Regions from separate parts of the Homo sapiens genome. Here regions 1 and 2 are each linked to region 3. Evidence: promoter capture Hi-C in 16 types of primary human blood cells and fetal thymus (Javierre and others, 2016). All regions are on one chromosome and are shown on one strand. The core of a region is centred on a gene start or on the middle of the fragment in contact, and the rest is flanking DNA. Distances in the headings are between cores, read along the strand shown.

Region 1 (3,342 bases), core at 93-2,592, 850 kb before region 3:
GGGTTTCTCCATGTTGGTCAGGCTGGTTTCAAACTCCCGACCTCAGGTGATCTGCCCACCTTAGCCTACCAAAGTGCTGGCATTACAGGCGTGAGCCACTGTACCCAGCTGAGTGGAAAACATTTAAAAAAAATTCAGTCTTAAGGGCCTTAGGACGTCCAGGCCTTTGAATCTATTATATTTTGGCTTGGTTGTGCGTCCCGATCCCTCTCCCTGAATACCTCAGATACACATCATTGAATGACATTAAAAACCCCAGCTAGAGAGAGGTCAGGAAAGTCCAGTCTCAGCCCAGCCACCCATCCCAGCCCTTCCACACCAGTGTGCTCACCTGATAAGCAGACGGCTGTGTGGGCCATCACTAGCCTGCGTGACTAGATTTCACATTTGAAATTATTCCCATGCATAGCCAAGTTCCTCTGCTGTTTGAAACTGATGAAGAGATGAGACAGAGTGAAGATAATATGGCTAATACTTGGGAGACAGGGCAGGGTCTGTGTGTCTTCATTCTTATCTAGTTTAAGTGTCCTGTGAGAATGCCAATGTTGGCTTTCATCTGTGACTGACAGGCATGTGGTGGTTGGTCCAAAAGTTCAGGCAAATAGTGTTGAAACCAACACCATCAATAAATATAAAGCAGCCATCTCTTTAAAGTCTGATATTTCCTCTCATGTGATTTATAAATAGGAAGGGGGGCTTGAAGGTTGAGGAGGAGGAAGAAGAAAATAAGCAGGCTGGAAAGAGCCAGCTCCCTTCCTCCTCCGTCTGTGCCCTCCCCATCTCTCCTTCCTCCCCTCTGCTTTTTGGCATCGATCCCCACTGCACCTCAGAGCTCTGACTGATGTAATTCTAGAAGAGATGTGAAGGTGACACGTGATTCACCTCTTCTGACTTCTCAGTCTTCCAGGGATGATATCACTAGAGTAAGAAGAGATGTTTTGAATGAAAATAAAAGAAAGACCCTAAAACTACTTTGCTCCTGGAGCTCAGAGGGAAAAGAATGGAGCGACAAAAGCAAAGCTAAGTCATTAGATAAAATACACCTTCCAGAAAACACCTGAAGTCTGGTTTACTCATCAAATTTAGCTTTTCTTTCCTGCAAAGTGAGGCTCATGTTTCTCCATGACTTAACCTGATGGTACTTTAAATGCACTGAGACACTTTCCACGTTCTTTCCCAGCCTAGGTAATCCTCCGTGTTCAACAATGCAGCATCGACTGCATGAAAAACAGGGTGACTCCCGGCGGCACGCGGTCCTCCAGGGGTGGCAGCGTGAGTCTGGGAGGAGGCATTCATCGACTCCTCACAGCACAAACATCCCATGTTCACTTCTACCATTTGTCGCATATGTAAGCAGGAAGGTGGGAGGAATAAAATGGCATAAAATAAACAATAGTATTTCATACCCTCCCAACTATGACAGCTTCAGAGAACCCCCTCCACACACACGTGTGTGGACACACATGGTTTCCCTAAAGAAACACCTCTCACTGCCCCACAGTCAGCAGAACAGATTTTAACCAAATTAGAAAGGCTCTGTTATACTAAGAAAGCACAATTCCCTCCCAGGGGACAGAGCTGTTTTTGAGGGTTCTGCTTGTGAGTAGAGAGAGAACTGGTTGGAAGAATCTACCCCTGGCACCATACTGGAGATTTAAAAATCTCATTGTAGTTGCCAAGGATCACGAGAAACATAGAAATTCTATTAGGAGCAAGTTGCCGTCTTTTTAAACAGGATTTAGTAATTTAATAAGCAGAACTCTTTCCTCTGTGTGGTATGCATCAGTAGTCCCAGCATCTGCTGCTAAGTGATGCATGACAGAGCTAGAAATGTGCACGGACTGCTGGGGTAGGAGCCATGACTGACACATGGGGAACTACTCAGGGCTCCAGGCAGCCAGGAGGGTGCTAGGCCCAGGGCGCTCTGCACTCTCTGCTCCAGGCTTGTTGCACATGTCCACTGTCTTAGTCCGTTTCGTGTTGCTATAAAGAATACCTGAGGCTGGGTAATTTATTTATATTTATTGATTTATTTATTTTGAGACAGAGTTTCACTCTTGTTGCCCAGGCTAGAGTGCAATAGCATGACCTTGGCTCACCACAACCTCCATCTCCCGGGTTCAAGCGATTCTCCTGCCTCAGCCTCCCGAGTAGCTGGGAATATAGGTGCCCTCCACCTCACCCGGCTAATTTTGTGCTTTTTTTTTTTTTTAGTAGAAACAGGGTTTCACCATGTTGGTCAGGCTGGTCTTGAGCTCCTGACCTCAAGTGATCCACCCGCCTTGGCCTCCCGAAGTGCTGGGATTACAGGCATGAGCCACCATGCCTGGCAAGGCTGGGTAATTTATAAAGGAAAGAGGTTTATTTGGCTCAAGGTTCTGCAGGCTGTACAAGAAGTGTGGTGCCAGCTTCTGCTCTGGTGAGGCCTCAGGCTGCTTGCACTCATGGCGGGAGGTGAACTGGAGCAGGAATCAAATGGCAAGAGGAAGGAAGCAAGAGATAGGGAGAAGGGCAGTGCCAGGCTCTTTTGGACAACCTGCTCTCGAGTGAGAGAGAAATCACTCATTGCCTCCGTCTCCCCACAGGGAGAGCATTAACCTATTCATAAGGGATCCACCTCCATGACCCAAATACCTCCCATTAGGCCCCACCTCCAACACTGGGATCAAATTTCAAGAAGAGATTTGGGGGAACAAATATCCAAACTACAGCGGCCACACCTGGATCTGGCTTGACCAGTAGCCGGGGCCGTTTCTGTTCCTTCTGGCTCACCCCTGTTCGTAGGCCCAGTGTCCCCTAGACCAAACCCCCACTGCTTGCTCTAAAGCTCTTGTGACCCAGTTTGAGCGCCTTGACTAACCATCGTCTTGGTGGTTTGAATGGTGAGAAGATGGCCCTGGAACTTGGCACTCCTTCCTTCCTCTTTCTTGAGCTGCTCAGTGGTACCAGAAAAGGACCTTGTTTCTAACCCTCCATGGGGAGTGACATTTCTGAAGGCCTCCTCTTCTCCCCTCCTCTTCATCTCTACCCCTTCCTCCTTCTCCAGTTCACACCTCATTCCCCTATGGCACAGCTCCCCATCTGAATTTCTCCTTTCCACAAACCTAGCTGATATCTTATATTGCCTGAAAGAAAAGATAGCCCAGGCTTTAAAGGAAAAGCAAACCAAGCACAGAGGCATCAGCCAGCACCAATCCTGCAACTCCAGGGCATGCTAAGGGACCAAGACCCACGGGTCCAAACTCCTAGACTGATGCGCTTTTAATAGGCCTCCAGTTATTTTATTTTATTTTTTTGAGACAGAGTCTTTCTCTGTCACCCAGGCTAGAGTGCAGTGGTATG
Region 2 (3,698 bases), core at 502-3,001, 890 kb before region 3:
TCCCTACGATGCCGGAAGCCTGGTTGGTCTTTGGGGTCGTGCAGCTACTGAAAAATGGGGATTAAAGACAATCACGTGGTAACAATGTTATGACATATGTCATCTTACCAGTCCGACCGTAAGTTGCCCATCTTTCACCTTTCTCCCAGTGTGTAGCTCCTTAAAGAGCTCCAGTAACTCCTGCTTGGATACCAGATGGCTAAAATTGTGTATCTGCCTCTTCTGTGGGGTTTTCCTGCTCCGAGCCTCAGAATCTGCAGTAGAGCTTTCCTTCCAGTCCTGGCTGCAGTCCTCTTCCTTGGGACCGTCTTCTTCTGAGCACGTCTGCCAGTCGTCTTCCTCCTCCTCTGGACAGTCCTCATACTCACTGTCATCTTCATCCGTTGTGGGATTTTCACTAAGTGAAGGAGAATCCCTAGCTGGGAGATGTTCGGATTCACTGTGGGAAATTTCAGCCTGGTCGAAACTGGAATGTCCAAACTTGGTTGTGTTGCTTTGTCTATCATCTCTGTTTGCCTCTTCCTGACAAAATAATAGAAACGCTCAGAAGTATATAACTGCAGTTTCCACTCTAGTAAAAATACTTAATGAGTTGTAAGATGGACAGAGGATGGCTGGGCGTGGTGGCTCAAGCCTGTAATCCCAGCACTTTGGGAGGCCAAGGTGCGCAGATCATTTGAGGTCAGGAGTTTGAGACCACGCTGACCAACATGGTGAAACCCCGCCTCTACTAAAAATACAAAAATTAGCCAGGCGTGGTGGTGCACACCTGTAATCCCAGCTACTTGGGAGGCTGAAGCAGGAGAACTGCTTGAACCTGAGAGGCGGAGGGTGCAGTGAGCCGAGATGGTGCCACTGCACTCCAGTCTGGGCAACAGACAAGGCTCTGTCTCACAAAAAAAAAAAAAAGATGAACAGGGGACAAGCAAAGTTCGACGGAGATGGAAAGGTGAACACAGGGAGGAGACAACGAAAGCCTTTCAGTTCAGTGCCGTGACAGACAACCATCGAGGGTGGCGCCCTCCTGGAGGGGAGAATTGGACCTTCCCTTCACTTTTTACTTTATATGTTTCTGTACTATTTGAACTCTGTACAAAGAACATGTATTACTTTTGTAATTTAAAATAACTCTAGGCCGGGTGCTACGGCTCACGCCTGTAATCCCAGCGCTTGGGTGGCGGAGGTGGGAGGATCGCTCAAGGCCAGGAATTCAAAACCAGTCTGGGCAACACAGCAAGACTGGGTGTCTACAAAAACAAACAGAAAACCACCACCACAACAACAACAACAAAACTCTTCAAAGACAGCAAGGGGAAAAGCTTATGTTAAACTGAACTCTTGACAGTACGTTATTTTGCAATGGGCTGCATGATAAAACAAAGCATTTCTCAGGAACAACAACACATTTAACATACTCCTCTCTGCACAAAGCAAGGGCAGACTTTGCCATTTGCAGTTCATTTTACATTTGTATTTTTAAAGACGGTGGTTGGCATGTTTAAAGAAATCTGCTCTTCTCTCATAATTGCTTTTAGAAGTCAAAGCACCATGGAGCACACACAGATCCCTGTGTGTGAAATGTGGCAGCAAAACTCAACTCCACATGTGGAAATTATTTACTGATGAAAGATTCCCTTTGGAAAGTGAAAGGTACAAATCATTTTCTACTCAAGGGTGTGTTAATTCTTCTGAATCCCTCTTGACAACAAAGCAGAAATAAGGGTGAATTTGTCGGGACTTGAAAGTGATGGAAACCTGGTATCATTTCCAAGTAGCTTTGTTAGAATGATTAACAGTCACAGAAGGGGACACGATGAACTCAAACATGTATCCTAAATCTTAAGAAAGCAGAAATAAAAACAAAATGTCAGGAAAAATAGGTATGATTTAACAATCAAGCCTGGCAACTCAAAAAGAACCCTGGCTTATGAGAGAAATATAGAACTGGAAGCAATTTCTATGGTAAATGAGCAGCGAAGGTAAAGAAGTCAGTGTCGTCACTGTGGGCTCTTTTGAGTCATTTTCAAATATGAAAGTAGCATAAAAACAAGAATGTGAACTGAACATGAATGTGTAGTAGAAAAACTACAGCGGGGAGCAGTTCAGCTTCAGGAAAAGTACTAAAGACAATCAAAGGACTTTGCCGTAATTATGTTAAAAATTAAAAGAAAGAAGGAAAAAGTCAAGCTTTCGGGGAACACAGTGCACTTTCAAGGTGACCAAAGGAAACCAGAGATACTCAACTCAGAATTGGCCTGTGTCTTTTGAAAAATGTCACATTTTTTCAGAACATTCACGTTTTTCAAACAACTGAAGTTGAACAACTATAGAAGATGACCCAAACTTCCAGGCAAGAAAACAGTGAATATCAGGCTACTTCTAATACATTCATGTTTGATACCCAAATTACAGATATTAGTATCAAGTTACAAGTAAGACTTCACAACCTGAGAAATCATGGAAAACAGCAGAGTCCAGAAAACTTGGGAGAAGCAAATGGCGCCTCACTCTTAAAAAGGAGGAAAGAATATCTTCCATAAACTATACACTGTTAATCCAGACACTGACATTAAAACAATTCTACAGGTGACCTGGTGAGCCCTAAAAATAAGACAGTCATCAACAGGAGGCAGTGAGTTCCCTGAAAACTGATCATGCAAAAAATTTCATTTCCCTTTGTTATCTTGGTTAGTAAATCAAGAAGGCCACAGATGCAGAAACTAATCTCTTCCATTTTTGATAGGGTTATTGCATCAGGGCAGAGCAATATAATGATAAGTATCTATTTTAAAACTTCACCAAGACATTGACTTCCAGGAAAGACTGGAAACAATAGAAATAATGGTTTAACAGGGCAAACTATTCTTCTGCCTAAGAATGGTAAGTATCTATACTTACTGCCGAGAAGACTAAATGAGTAAAATATGTAAAGTGTTTAGAATAGTGGTGTCTGGTAAAGAATATGTTTTTATTAACTGATTAATTTTATGGGTTAGTTTTAATTATAGTAATAATTATTATTGGTATATTCTTGTGAATATATCTATATTCACATAAAAACGCTTGGCATAAGTCAATCCTAAGCCAAAAGAACAAAGCTGGAGGCATCACGCTACCTGACTTCAAACTATACTACAAGGCTACAGTAACCAAAACAGCATGGTACTGGTACCAAAACAGAGATATAGACCAATGGAACAGAACAGAGCCCTCAGAAATAATGCCACACATCTACAATTATCTGATCTTTGACAAACCTGACAAAAACAAGCAATGGGGAAAGGATTCCCTATTTAATATATGGTGCTGGGAAAACTGGCTAGCCATATGTAGAAAGCTGAAACTGGATCCCTCCCTTACACCTTACACAAAAATTAATTCACGATGGATTAAAGACTTACATGTTAGACCTAAAACCATAAAAACCCTAGAAGAAAACCTAGGCAATACCATTCAGGACACAGGCATGGGCAAGGACTTCATGTCTAAAACACCAAAAGCAATGGCAACAAAAGCCAAAATTGACAAATGGGATCTAATTAAACTAAAGAGCTTCTGCACAGCAAAAGAAACCACCATCAGAGTGAACAGGCAACCTACAGAATGGGAGAAAATTTTTGCAACCTACTCATCTGACAAAGGGCTAATATCCAGAATCTACAAAGAACTCCAACAAATTTACAAGAAAAAAACAACCC
Region 3 (3,298 bases), core at 755-3,254:
AAACTCACACTGGAGAACAGCTAAATAACATAAATGCCAGTAAGGACCACATTCCTGCTGCTGAAAACCCTGAAGCTACATTTGAGCCTTCTGTAGTTACGTTACTTATCTTTTAATTCCTTTTCTTTTCTTTCCTTTTTTTTTTTTTTTTTTTTTTTAAGAGATGAGGTCTCATTATGTTGCCCAGGCTGGTCTCAAACTCCTGGGATCAAGCAATCCTCCCACCTTGGCCTCTCCAAGTGCTGAGATTACAGGCGTGAGCCACCACGCCTGGATGTTATTTATCTTTTAACTAACTTGGTTCTCCTGCTTCAGTTATGTTCTGGTGAAATTCTGTCTTCTTAATTCCATGACCTACACATCACACTCCCCCAGCACTCCATTTAACGTGGCTTAGCCCAAAGAAGTTGGAAAATTGTGTGTGAGAGAATGTAAGATTCAAGCATCCATGAGCGTGGGAGTTGCTAGACAAAAACTAAGGTCCTTTCCAGCCCCAAAAGGCCACGATTCTAACCTATGAACCTACTCAATATTTCCTTCAAGGTAACACAAATCCCTAAAATTTACCACCACCAAGCAGTAGTTCCTTTTATGGTCCTAAATAAGATCCTTTATCCAGGAATGCCCTAGGTTCCTATATTCTGAGATTTCACAAACATCCTCATTTTAGCTTCTGACTACCAATTTCAATGGTAACTTTTCTTAAGCCTTATTTTCAGAAAGTAGAGTCCTTCTATTTTTAGTATCTTGCAACGCCCAAGCCCCCGTGCACTTCTAACCCACTACAGATACTGTACTGCAACATTTTCTCCGTGCATAAACGCCTACCTTTCTTTTTTTAAAGGCTAGTATATTGTTCCATTATACAAACGTACCGTAATTAATATTTCACCAGCTCTTACTAATGGACTTCCGGTCGTTTCCAATTATATTATAAATATTACATACAATGCTCAGGTCAACAACTTTTTACATGTGTATCTTTAGCGTATGCAAGAGCAACTAAATTACCACTGGGTCATTTCAAGTTGCTCCTCTTTGAACTGTTTTGAGCTTAGATCTATCTCTGAACAGGAACAAAAACTAGAAAGCACCCAAAACTCTGGTTGCAGATGCAGAAATACAGTGTGGCACAATGCTAATGGGGGAAATGGTCTCTTCTTTGACGGATCGCCTATTAGCTTGAGACTAGATCTTAAAGGGTTCCCAAAGCAAGAAAATACACTGTAATTATCGAAGAATTTTAGATACCTCAGAGATGAGGTTAAGAAATAGTAAAAGCTTAACAGTCGAAGATCTGAAGCTTCAATTTCATTCTTTGATGTTCCCGATTACAGAAAGTTCAAAGATGATGTTTAAAAATATTATATATGCCCAAATGCTTAAAAAAAAAAAAGGAAGCATGATAAACGTCATCGCCCAGCCTTCTTAAAGATCGCTCCCACCCGCGGCTAGCCGGGCAGGAGAAGAGACTCGAGCGGCACCCGAGCCGCATCCACGCCGCCCGCCCGCCCCTGGGGTCTGGGTAGGTAACGGGCCCGGCGGGAAGGAGGGGCTCCCAGGCCGTCCCTCCCAGCGCTCACCTCAGCTCCTCGTCGACATTCCCGCGGGGCTGTTCGGCCGACGCCACCATAGAGGAAGTCGTAGAGGTCTTGTTCTTCAAGATCCCCTTGATGGGCCGGTGCGAGGCCGTCGAGGCCGCCATTGCCGGGCGCTCCGGCTGTCGGCTCAGGGTCGCTGCTTGGCGTGGGGTCCGCGAAGAGAAGGGTCGGCACAGCAGAGACTCGCAGGCAGCCGCAGATCCCGCTCAGGGCTAAAGCGGCCGCAACTGCTGCCTCGGAAACGGCTACCGCAGCGGTTGTCACGACACAACGACCCCGACGCCAGAGCCAACGCCGAACGGGTGGCGGCTACTCGCGCACCCTTAGCCACTGGCACTTGACCCGCGGCTCGCGGAGAGACGCCGGCCTAGAGCTCCAGCGCAGGAGCGACGCGACGCCGAAGCCAAGCGGACCCGCCCTCTCGCGATATCTAGGGAGGAGGCGGGGAGAGGGCGGGGCGAGAACAAAGCCGACCTCCTCGCCCCGCCCCCTCCGTCCCGCCCGGGCTGCTCGCCCCGCCCCCGCGCGGCGCTGGGAGGCGGGAGCTGTCTCTGAGAACCTGCGGGAGAGCGCCCGGGCTTGCTGCTTCCCGGACCCGCGCGTCTCTCGAGCACCCTCGTCCCACCACCTTGTGAGGCCGTAGTGTTATTTTTATTTTTTAGATCAGCAGACTGAGACTCGAGGTGACGTCACTCCGCAGAGAGGTTAGCTGACTTGAAGAAAACGGGTATCTCCTCTTTCCATTTCGCCCGTGTAAACAGCCGAACTGCCTATTATAAAAGCATGGACTGCCAGCATTGGAGTGGTCCTTAGAGGCCTATTATGAAATCATAGAATGTCTGCATTGGAATCGCCTCACCTCCTTTTACCGCTGGAGAAGCCGACGGACAGACGGGCAGCGACCCCCGCCGTCGCACAACCCGTCTAGGCAGAGAGCGCAGGAGACGGGAGGGCGGCAGGGACACATCTCCCAGCCAAGGACCTCCTGGGCCCGCAGAGGCCGCGACAGGTTCCCCCCACAGAGGGAACCAACTCTGCCGCAGGTTGATGTGGACTTCAAGCCTGCAGAACGGAGAGCCCATTTCCATTGCTTAAAGCCACCTCGTGTGTGGTATTTGTTATGGTCCCTGTACACTCCCTTCCCTCCCTCTCCCAAGTCCAGTCCGCAGCTCGCTCATCACCAGGCTCTTTTCCATGACTCTTTCTTGATCAGGCCTTTTTATCGTCCTCACCACAGGTTAGAGCACAGCAGACTGAGCCACCCAGAACTGGCCCCTCCGGTGGACCAGCCCCTGCGGATTCACAGACCACTGGTCCTGGAAGGGACCTTGTCAAGCAGGCCCATAAGGTGGCTATTCAGCCTGTTTCTCCAACAACCCCAGGGGCTAGAAGCCCGCCACACCCCCGTGTAACTCATTTTGTTTTTGGACAGCTCTGACTCTGGGAGTTCTTAGATTGAGCTGACACCTCGCTCCCAGCAATGTCTGTCCACTGCTGTGGGGGGTGAGAGGAAGCGTTTTCCCCTATCTAGCCCCTATAGCAGCAGTTTCACTCCCATGGCTCATCTCTGGACCACAGTCTCATCTTCTTTAACACAGGCTCTGTGCCTTTTGAGGATGACCCTGTTCTGTGTCCTTAGGACTCTGCCCCTCAGGGATGACTGTAGGGTTCTGAAAACGATTGTTTTTATCGTCTGG

What was found. The method cuts DNA at HindIII sites, captures the fragments that hold promoters and counts their contacts. A CHiCAGO score of 5 or more calls a contact.
Region 1: a contact is called between a fragment that was not itself captured here and the fragment with the promoter of PPP1R2 in region 3, in 3 of 17 cell types (fetal thymus, erythroblasts and megakaryocytes). The highest score is 7.3, in fetal thymus.
Region 2: a contact is called between a fragment that was not itself captured here and the fragment with the promoter of PPP1R2 in region 3, in 1 of 17 cell types (naive B cells). The highest score is 6.0, in naive B cells.

What each region holds. Positions count from the first base shown.
Region 1 is chr3:194,690,345-194,693,686 of GRCh38, forward strand. No RefSeq gene overlaps it. Among named protein-coding and RNA genes, the nearest start is that of FAM43A, 6.1 kb to the left of the region's middle. The HindIII fragment of the contact is 8,231 bases long and covers 1-3,342 here.
Region 2 is chr3:194,652,621-194,656,318 of GRCh38, forward strand. LSG1 (large 60S subunit nuclear export GTPase 1) reads right to left here. Exons shown (of 14, transcript NM_018385.3): 8 at 109-522. Among named protein-coding and RNA genes, the nearest start is that of LSG1, 18 kb to the right of the region's middle. RefSeq lists an enhancer at 2,083-2,132. The HindIII fragment of the contact is 868 bases long and covers 1,318-2,185 here.
Region 3 is chr3:195,541,321-195,544,618 of GRCh38, forward strand. It overlaps PPP1R2 (protein phosphatase 1 regulatory inhibitor subunit 2), which reads right to left and starts at 2,005. Exons shown (of 6, transcript NM_006241.8): 1 at 1,584-2,005. The coding sequence starts at 1,705. RefSeq lists a silencer at 1,977-2,216. The HindIII fragment of the contact is 8,075 bases long and covers 1,302-3,298 here.